Regions from separate parts of the Homo sapiens genome. Here region 1 is linked to region 2. Evidence: promoter capture Hi-C in 16 types of primary human blood cells and fetal thymus (Javierre and others, 2016). All regions are on one chromosome and are shown on one strand. The core of a region is centred on a gene start or on the middle of the fragment in contact, and the rest is flanking DNA. Distances in the headings are between cores, read along the strand shown. Region 1 has its middle 22 kb from the start of DRP2. Region 2 holds the start of XKRX (XK related X-linked).

Region 1 (4,567 bases), core at 913-3,412, 270 kb after region 2:
ATCACCCAGGCCATTAACAACTCTGCCTTAGTGTTCACTTCCTGATTGTGCAAAGGCTCAAGGTCAGCCAAACATGACAGTGTGGGGCCTTCTTGAGTCTTTCCAGAGCATGTTTACAGTCCTATGCATGCTTATGCCCTTCTAGATCTTCTGAAAAATGTAGGAGGTTTTCAAAGTGCTTATAGATATATTCTTCCCCAATTTTTCTGTTTAAGATTTTTTATTAGTCTATTGTGTACCTTAACTGTTATTCACAGCCTTAGGCAGCTGCAAAGCTAAATCACTTGCCTGTATTTGTTTTTGGCAAATACTCCCCCTGGAGAAGGCTTTTTGCACTGTGTTATCTCTGAGCAAGTGGTATTTTCCAGGGAACCACCAGACATATATAACAATGACAGTTGTTTAGGAATGAGGCTTTGAATAAGCTCCCACCTCTTTCTGCTCCCTCACGTGTCAGGCTGCTGGTTTTCTTCATAAATGTGGACTGTAATTTTTTAAGGCTACTGCAGAGCTAGAGAGTGGGAGATGGAACTAGGACAAATTAAAATGACGTGAAGCTCACTTTTCTTACAGAGATTCAGGTGTTTTTCTTTAAAATACATTCCCCAGGTTGCTGCAAGCCTTTGGTTAATTTCCAGAGTTCTGAAAATGTTGATTCTGACTAGTTTTGGCTTCAAAAAAATTTTACGGAGGACTGAATTTGGGGGGCCGTTACTCTTCCATTTTCGCTAATATTGTCTCAATAATTCTTTTAAAAAGCTTGTTAATATAATTATATCTAAAAACATTAACAATACTGCCTTAATATATGTCTATTTTATGTTTCCCTGATTGTCTCAAAGTATTTTTATAACCATTTGTTTGATTCAGGTATTTTAAATGGTCCCCAGGTTACATTTGGTTGATATGTCTTTAATGCCTCATTTAATCTATAGGTTCTCCTTGTTCCTTTTTATTTTTGCAATTTTTTTGTTGAAGAAACTGGGTGTCTTCCTAAGTTTCCCACATTCTAGAGTTTGCTCATTCTATTCTCATGATATTGTTTAACATGCTCCTTTGTCCCTTTTTTCCCTACAGGTTTAATTAGAGTAGATCTTATCTTTTGATAAGAATATTTCATATATACTATTGTCTGTCATTCTCCTTATATTTTAAAGCTACATTTGGGTGCCCATATCAGGGCCCTACAACAAGTGGATTAGAATATAGAGGCTTAGGCTAGGCACAGTGGCTCACGCCTGTAATTCCAGCATGTTGGGAGGCCAAGGTGGGCGGATCACCTGAGGTCAGGAGTTCCAGACCAGCCTGGCCAACATGGTGAAACCCCGTCTCTACTAAAAATACAAAAATTAGCCAGGCGTGGTGGTGTGTGCCTGTAATCCCAGCTACTCGGGAGGCTGAGGCAGGAGAATCGCTTGAACCTGGGAGGTAGAGGTTGCAGTGAGCCGAGATCGCGCCACTGTACTCCAGCCTGGGTGACAGAGCGAGACTCCGTCTCAAAAAATAAATAAATAAATAATAAAGAAATTAAAAATAGAATATAGAGGCTTACCTATAATCTCTTCCTTCTGTGCACTCCCTTCTTCCCAAACAGATATACACTTATTCTCTCAGTAATGAAATACTTATTTCTAGGAATTGAAAAGTAACCTTTTTTTCCATTAAAATACTGGTTCTGTCAGTCTTAGATTACCACGACCATTATTAAAATCTTTATACTGCATTTTTTACTATTTAGTATTTTTAGATTTTTAAACCCCAAACCTAAACCTTTGTCAGCCTAATTGTACTGGAATTTTAAAAATAGTATCAAGCTGGGTGCACTGGCTCTTGCCTGTAATCCCAACACTTTGTGGGGCTGAGGTGAGAGGATCACTTGAGCCCAGGAGTTCAAAACTAGCCTAGGCAACGTAGCGAAACCCCATCTGTACAAAAAATTAAAAAATTACCAGGGTATGGTGGCACACACCTATAGTCCCAGCTACTCAGAAGGCTGACGAGGGAGGATTGCTTGAGCCTGGGAAGTTGAGGCTACAGTGAGCCATGACCATGCCACTGCACTCCAGCCTGGGTGACAGAGTGAGACCCTGTCTAAAAAAAAATATTGTCATGCATTATATCCAGTTCACATTCTAAGATATTGTGTGGATGCCTTTCATCCAGATTCTTCAGTGTGGCAGGCATTATTATAATAGTCTCATTTTACAGTTGAAGAAACTATAAGCTCTGAAAGATTGAATAATTCACACAAAGTCATTCATAATGGAGTCAGGTCTGCCTTTCAGATCTACTAACACCAGAGTCTATGGGTTTTTTTCATTACACCATTTTGAGAATAAAATCATATGGTATTGCAAGCTGCTCCTTGTACTCTTTCTTTTTTTTTTTTTTTTTTGAGATGGAGTCTCGCTCTGTCACCCAGGCTGGAGTGCAGTGGCACGATCTCGGCTCACTGCAACCTCCACCTCCCGGGTTCAAGTGACTCTCCTGCCTCAGCCTCCTGAGTAGCTGGGATTACAGGTGCCCGCCACCACGCCTGGCTAATTTTTGTATTTTTAGTAGAGATGGGGTTTCACCATGTTGGCCAGGCTGGTCTCGAACTCCTGACCTCCTGATCCGCCCGCCTTGGCCTCCCAAAGTGCTGGGATTACAGGCGTGAGCCACCGCATCCGGTCTCTTTTTTTTTTTTTTTGAGATGGAGTCTCACTCTGTCTCCCAGGCTGGAGTGCAGTGGTACAATCTCGGGTCACTGCAACCTCCACCTCCCGGGTTCAAGTGATTCTCCTGCCTCTGCCTCCCAAGTAGCTGGGATTACAGGCACGTGCCATCACACCCAGCTAATTTTTGTATTTTTATTAGAGACGGGGCTTCCCTATGTTAGCCAGGCTGGTCTCGAACTCCCAACCTCAGGTGATCTGCCCCCCTTGGCCTCCCAAAGTGCTGGGATTATAGACGTGAGCCACCACACCTGGTGCCTGGTACTCTCTTAAGAAAAATATCTCCTTTTTAAGATTATTAGTATCATAAGATCTAATACCTTGAAGCAGATAATATAGATACTGCAAGTATGGGCTATAATATAATAAATCACACTAGGGTGAGGAAAATTGAAAGGTTGTTCTCCACTTAATGCTTTAACATTACCAAATTAATGTTGTCTTCAATTACCACTTTCCCACACTAAAAATTAAAACTAATCACTATGTATAATTTAAACGTTTTGAATTATTGCCCTGAGCTTAATCTTAGTTTAAAACAATTGAAACACACCAGAACTTTCTTCAAAGAAAAATGTATTTGAAAACTCCTGGTAAAAATACTGATTCCTCTTTTAATGATAAAAGATAAAACACACTCTTATTGGAGCAGAGAATAATGACCACTTTTGTTTTATAAAACATGTGTTTCCCTCACCCCTAATTGAGTACACATGCTCCAGGAAAAAAATCAGGGCCAAATACTGCTAATAATGAAAGGGAAGAATATTAGGATCATAATTTAATTAGCTCTAAGGATCTCTTTGCTCATCGCGAAATAAAAGGATCAATGATCCCTTTGAGCACTTGAAAGCTTTTCCTGTCAATTAGCCATTGTGACTAGATTGGCTATTTAAAGGCATGCTTTTCAAACTGGGTATGAGTACTCCCAGGGAAATTAAAAACTGTATAAATATACACACAATCACAGAGTGAGGAATGGCATTTTTTACTCAGATTATTTGCCAAAAACAAAGTATCCTGAATTGGGTCAGAGCAAATCTTCTGAAGAATATATGATGTCTGTATGGCATAAACTAATATCTGGGAGTAGGAAGAAAATTCTCTCTTCTGCTTTATTATACTTGGATACCACATCCAAAGCAAAAAATCTAAGCAAAAGAAAAGCAAAATAATCTGTTTAGAGGAAGATTTAATCAATTTGAGAGAGAAGCAATTATTTTACTTATCTAATTTGAATGCTGGGATAACATACTTTTTTCTTGAAGTGTTCAGTGGGACCATTAACCATTTTTTTTTCTTTTTTAAATTGATATTGTCTTTTTAAATATTTTTCTTCTTTTCTTTCTTCCTTTCTTTTTTTTTTTTTTTTTTTTTGAGATAAAGTCTTGTTATATTGTCCAGGCTGCTCTTGCACTCTTGGGCTTAAGCAATCTTTCTGCCTCAGCCTCCCAAGTAACTGGGACTACAGGCATGTGCCACTGTGCTTAGCTAATAATTGTTTTTTTCTTTTCTACAGTAAAAGTTCACAGATCTCAAGCGTAGCTCACTTAATTCTCTCTCTCTGTGTCTCCCTCACACACACATCTCTTTCTCTCTCACACACATACACACACACAATCATTTAACTACCTACCACCCAGATCAAGATGTAGAACCATTTCCAGTACCTCAGAAGACTTCTTCATGCCCCTTCCCACTTGATACTCTCGAAGGTAACCACCGTTTTAACTTGTATCACCATAGGTGTATTGCCTGTTTTAAAACTTCATTTAAATGGAATCAAACTATGTACTTATGTATTTGACTTTTGCTAAACATTATTTTCTTTTTCTTTCTTTCTTTTTTTT
Region 2 (4,724 bases), core at 1,776-4,275:
TGAAAATTTAAAATCATGACATTTCATATAAAAATCCTGTCTTGGGAGCATCTCCCGAAAAGTTAGTGGATCTGGCAATACTGGGTCTGAATTCCAACATGGAAACAATGCGCCAGGGCTCTAGAGGGGCTACCTCCTTCAGGCAGGTCATGAAGATTTCAGATTACCATGGTACTCACTACTCCTCAGTATTTCTCTGAGACTTTGTTTTCATTTATCATCTCACACAAGGCTACTGTTTTTTCTTATACTAGGCCTGCTTCATTCATTTATGATACCTGCCTGGTCCCTGCAAGTGTTTGAGTTTGAGACCCATGATTTAGACTAACCCATTTGCTTTACAGATGAGGGAACTCTATATGCCTTCCTGTGAAGCCATCTTCAGAGATTTTACCAAGAACACACAACCAGTCAATGACAGGGGGAAGACTAGACTCCAAATTTCAGGCCACTGTTTCCATTGATATCCCATATTCTCTCTGATAGAGCCTAATCGATTCCTCCCCACTTAAAAATTTATTGATAAAAAATTTTTTTGGCCTTATTGAGGTATAAGTGACAAATAAAAATTATACATGTGTACAGATATGAAATTTTATAAAGGAGTGAGTTCCATCCTTAATTAGTTTCACAGACTTTTTAGTTGTCTAATGATGAGGTATCTTCCCATTGCAACACTCTGACCCATATTCCTCGGCTGACTGCAGTTGTCTGCCTCTCTTGCAATCAAGACAAACTTGGTCCATTCCTTACTCCTGAACTCATAAGTTTTGCAACATCTCTCTACCTTGAAAACCCCATAGCATCCAGATGAGACTGTTGACACAGGTGCCTATCTCGCTAGGATTAAGTGCATTCTTTCCACTTCAAGGCAATCTGAATGGAAATACTTGATACTATTAAATTGTGCTACTGCATCCACATAGAGAGATGAACTGCCTTCCTTTGCCCCCTCCCAACTTCGTATCTTTATTGCAGAAATATACAAAGAGATAAATAGGAAACTGATAAACCGACAGAGAACTGAACTATATTGGGTTGGGGTACAGATTACCACAGATGGTTTAAAATAGTTTCCAGATGTCACATTACTCTGGAAAATTTGAAAATGGCAGTAGCACCAGCCCAAGCAGCTCAGGGTAAAGAAACTTTTATCCAATTTACAAAGCATCCAAAAGGTAGAGTCAAAATTACACACTCAGACCAGGCGCGGTGGCTCACTTTGGGAGGCTGAGGCAGGAAGATCACTTGAGCCCAGTCTACATAACGAGATCCCGTCTCTACAAAAAAAATTTTTTTTTTTTTGAGATGGAGTCTCACTCTATCGCCCAGGCTGGAGTGCAGTGGCACCGATCTTGGCTCACTGCAACCTCTACCTTCCGGGTTCAAGTGATTCTCCTGCCTCAGCCACCAGAGTAGCTGGGATTACAGATATGCGCCACCACACCCAGCTGATTTTTAGTAGAGACAGGGGTTTCACCATGTTGGCCAGCTGGTCTTGAACTCCTGACCTCAGGTGATCCACCCGCCTCAGCCTCCCAAAGTGCTGGGATTACAGGCATGAGCCACCACACCCGGCCTATAAAAATTTTTTTTTAATTAACCAGGCATGGTGACACATTCCTTTGGTCCCAGCTACTTGGAGGCTGAGGTGGGAGGTTCGCTTGATCCCAGGAGATCAAGGCTGCAGTGAGCCATGATCGCACCACTGCACTGTAGCCTGGGAGGCAGAGCAAGACCTTGTCTCAGAAAAAAAAAATTTTTTAAATAAAATTACACACTCTGCAGCTATGGCCTTCATGCACAGGGTGATCACGTCTTGTTGTTCCCATTCTAGTTTACACAGGCCAAATAGCATCGTTCATTGTTTTGGAACACAAGTACATACCACATGTTCATCATGGTGGCATTTAAGATTTCAGGTAAGTTTTCTGAATGGTAGACAGGGAAGCCGAGAGTGGGAGGAAATGAGAGAATTGATTAGAGCCATAGTATCCATCTTGTAAATCTTTCATCTTTCTCTGCCCAAGTCTGGGGTGGGGTTAGGGGGGTAAGGAAAAGATTTAAAAGTTGCTCACCTGATAACAGGTCCCAAGAGGATTAGATGCATAAATAATGATAGCGGTTTATCTTTGGCTAGATCTCTGTGGACAAAAATGAGGGTCAACTGGACCATAATGGATGAAAACATAAAGAAAGAAAAGGTGTATGTCATCCAGTAAGTTTCACTATTCTTTCGATAGATTCTAACCATGTACAAAGCAGATGCAGCCTCCCCACAGTACAAAAAGGTGGAGAAAAGGATGCTAAATGGAAAAGTAAATCGGGGGTTGGCTCCACGGATGACATCTTCCTCCAGAGATGAAACCGGATCCACATTTGGCTCCTCAGGAATTTCATAAACTCTGTCCATTGTCGAGGTTCTTTCTGAATGTTGTGGTCTTGTGTTCATAGCACCCTCCCACCCATCCCCAAGAGAACCCTATGGCCGCTACAGTCCAAGTATAGGTGAGGAGAGCTCTGTCAAGTCCAGTTTGGGAACAGAGATTCACTAGTTAGAGCAAGAAACCGCTCTCTTCTAGACTCAGATTCGACTTGGAGTCTGGGATGGAAAGCCCAGGAGTACCACTTTGAACTTGACTCTTGATTGGCCCCGATTCCAATCGTCAACATACTTGCTGTGAAACTTGAACAAGACAAAAGCAAGCATCCCAGCGCCCCATCCAGAGTCCAACTCCAGGGACGTGAAGAGTCATGAGAACAGCGGCTTCCGTGGCGGCTCCTTTCGCAGCCCCTCAGGCAGGGTGTAGCCGATCTGTCGGGGGCACCGACACTCAGCAGCTCCTCACAAAGAGTCCTGACCAGTGTGTCCTCTCAAGTCAGCGGAGAGCTGAGCCAGGGCAGAAGAGCGGGCGCAGAAGAAGGAGGGCAGAAGAGGGGATTCAGTTCAGTGCCTAGGTATCCTAGCTATTGCTAGGCTGTAGCTATCAGCTGGCCCGCTCACCTGCGCGCTCTCAGGACCTTTGCCGAGTCCAGGGTTCTCAGGATAGCTCCTCGGATTCCCCCAAGCCCCGCCCCCAAGACCGCCTGGCCCGGGAGTGGAGTATTGTCACCACCCTGTCTCCGAATGCAGTGTTGAGGGACAGAAGCAGAGCGCGCTCGCTCTACAGGATGAAGAAAAGGCTGGAGGGGCTGCTTCTCCTCGGAGAAACTTTGCTAGTGAGAGGCACGATGTGCGGGGCGCCAACCTGGCTGGACGGAGGTCGCCAAACTCTTGGACGCCGTCTGCTGCCAGGGTCCTGCCTGGTCTGCGATTCCAGCTGCGAGAGGTCGGCAGCTTCAAAAACTAAGGCACCGGGACGGCGGGGGCGGGCGAGATGGGCGGGACGGCTGCGGCCAAACAAAACCAGCCGGAGAGTTCCCGGGCAGGCGGCCAGCCGAGGGATGCTCGTTGTGGAGTGGCGGGACAAAAAGGGGCTTGGGCCGCTCTTCAGAAGCACTTCTGACCACCACCTCCAGACCCAGGCAGGAGCCACAGCTTTACTCCTCCCTAGGAGCAGCAGGCCCCCACTTCTACCCCGCCCTCCCTAACTAGTTAAGTGACTTGCTTCAACACTCACTCTACCCACGCTGTTAGGCAGGTGTGTCTCCCTCCGCCGCAGGGTGGAACCTCCCTAGGTCCTATTGCCCTCCAGATAATATCATGAAGGGGGAACCTGGGAGGAATAGGGTCAGAGTTTTCGGCGGAGGGAAGATAGAACAGGATAAAGGTCAAGACTCAAGGTCAGCCCACAGACACTGAAAGCTCATATTTTATGCCTTGATTTCTCCACTTGCAAAATGAGGCCAGGATAGGAGCTTTAGAATGAACTTACAGGTCTTTGGTTGAAAGGTTATGAAGAGGTGCCAAATTCTAAACAGACTGGCAAAGAGCCAAGAGAGAGCTGTTAGTAAAAACTGAGAGGGGTGTCTTAAAGAGCTTTGAAAATTACCTGTATTCTTAAGTGTAATCCTCCCCACCTCACTGAGCTTTTGTTTTCATATCTTCATTTGCATAATTCTAAACCTCAGAGAAAAAGAGAACACATCTGCCTCCTGGTAATAATATAGATGAAGGCCAGGCACAGTGGTTCACGCCTGTAATCCCAGCACTTTGGGAGGCTGAGGCAGGCAGATCACTTGAGGTCAGGAGTTCGAAACCAGCCTGGCCAACGTGGTGAAACCCCATCTCTACTAAAAATACAAAAATCAGCTGGTCGTGGTGGTGCGTGACTGTAATCCCAGCTACTCAGGAGGCTGAGGCAGGAGAAAAACTTGAACCCGGACGGCAGAGGTTGCAGTGAGCTGAGATCACGCCACTGCACTCCAGCCTGGGCAACAGAGCAAGATTACGTCTTAATAATAATAATAATAATAATAATAATAATAATAATAATGATGATTATGTAGCAGAGCCTGTGCCAATCTCCTTTTGCTGCAGGAAGTCAGTAAAACAAATCTATGTGAGGAGTGGCCAAGTAGCAGCCACCAAAATAATGGCCTCCAGGTTGTCCTGTCATTATGTTGTTTTTTGTTTTTTTAAGGTTTCCATGATTGCTGCCTCCTTTCCCCAGGGCTGATTCAGGGACAGATTCAACATCTAAAGGTTGTCACCTTCTGAAGCAGACTCCGCATCTTGGTCTGCACCTATGCTAGCAGCTGGGCTAGGAGGCTGCTCCTTTCTC

The links. The method cuts DNA at HindIII sites, captures the fragments that hold promoters and counts their contacts. A CHiCAGO score of 5 or more calls a contact.
Region 1: a fragment that was not itself captured here is called in contact with the fragment with the promoter of XKRX in region 2 in 7 of 17 cell types (total CD4 T cells, endothelial precursors, total B cells and 4 more); the score reaches 6.0 in total CD4 T cells.

The regions. Positions count from the first base shown.
Region 1 is chrX:101,195,591-101,200,157 of GRCh38, forward strand. No RefSeq gene overlaps it. Among named protein-coding and RNA genes, the nearest start is that of DRP2, 22 kb to the right of the region's middle. The HindIII fragment of the contact is 2,811 bases long and covers 758-3,568 here.
Region 2 is chrX:100,925,892-100,930,615 of GRCh38, forward strand. It overlaps XKRX (XK related X-linked), which reads right to left and starts at 3,026. Exons shown (of 3, transcript NM_212559.3): 1 at 2,079-3,026. The coding sequence starts at 2,413. RefSeq lists enhancers at 1,230-2,429, 3,623-3,672. The HindIII fragment of the contact is 22,335 bases long and covers 1-4,724 here.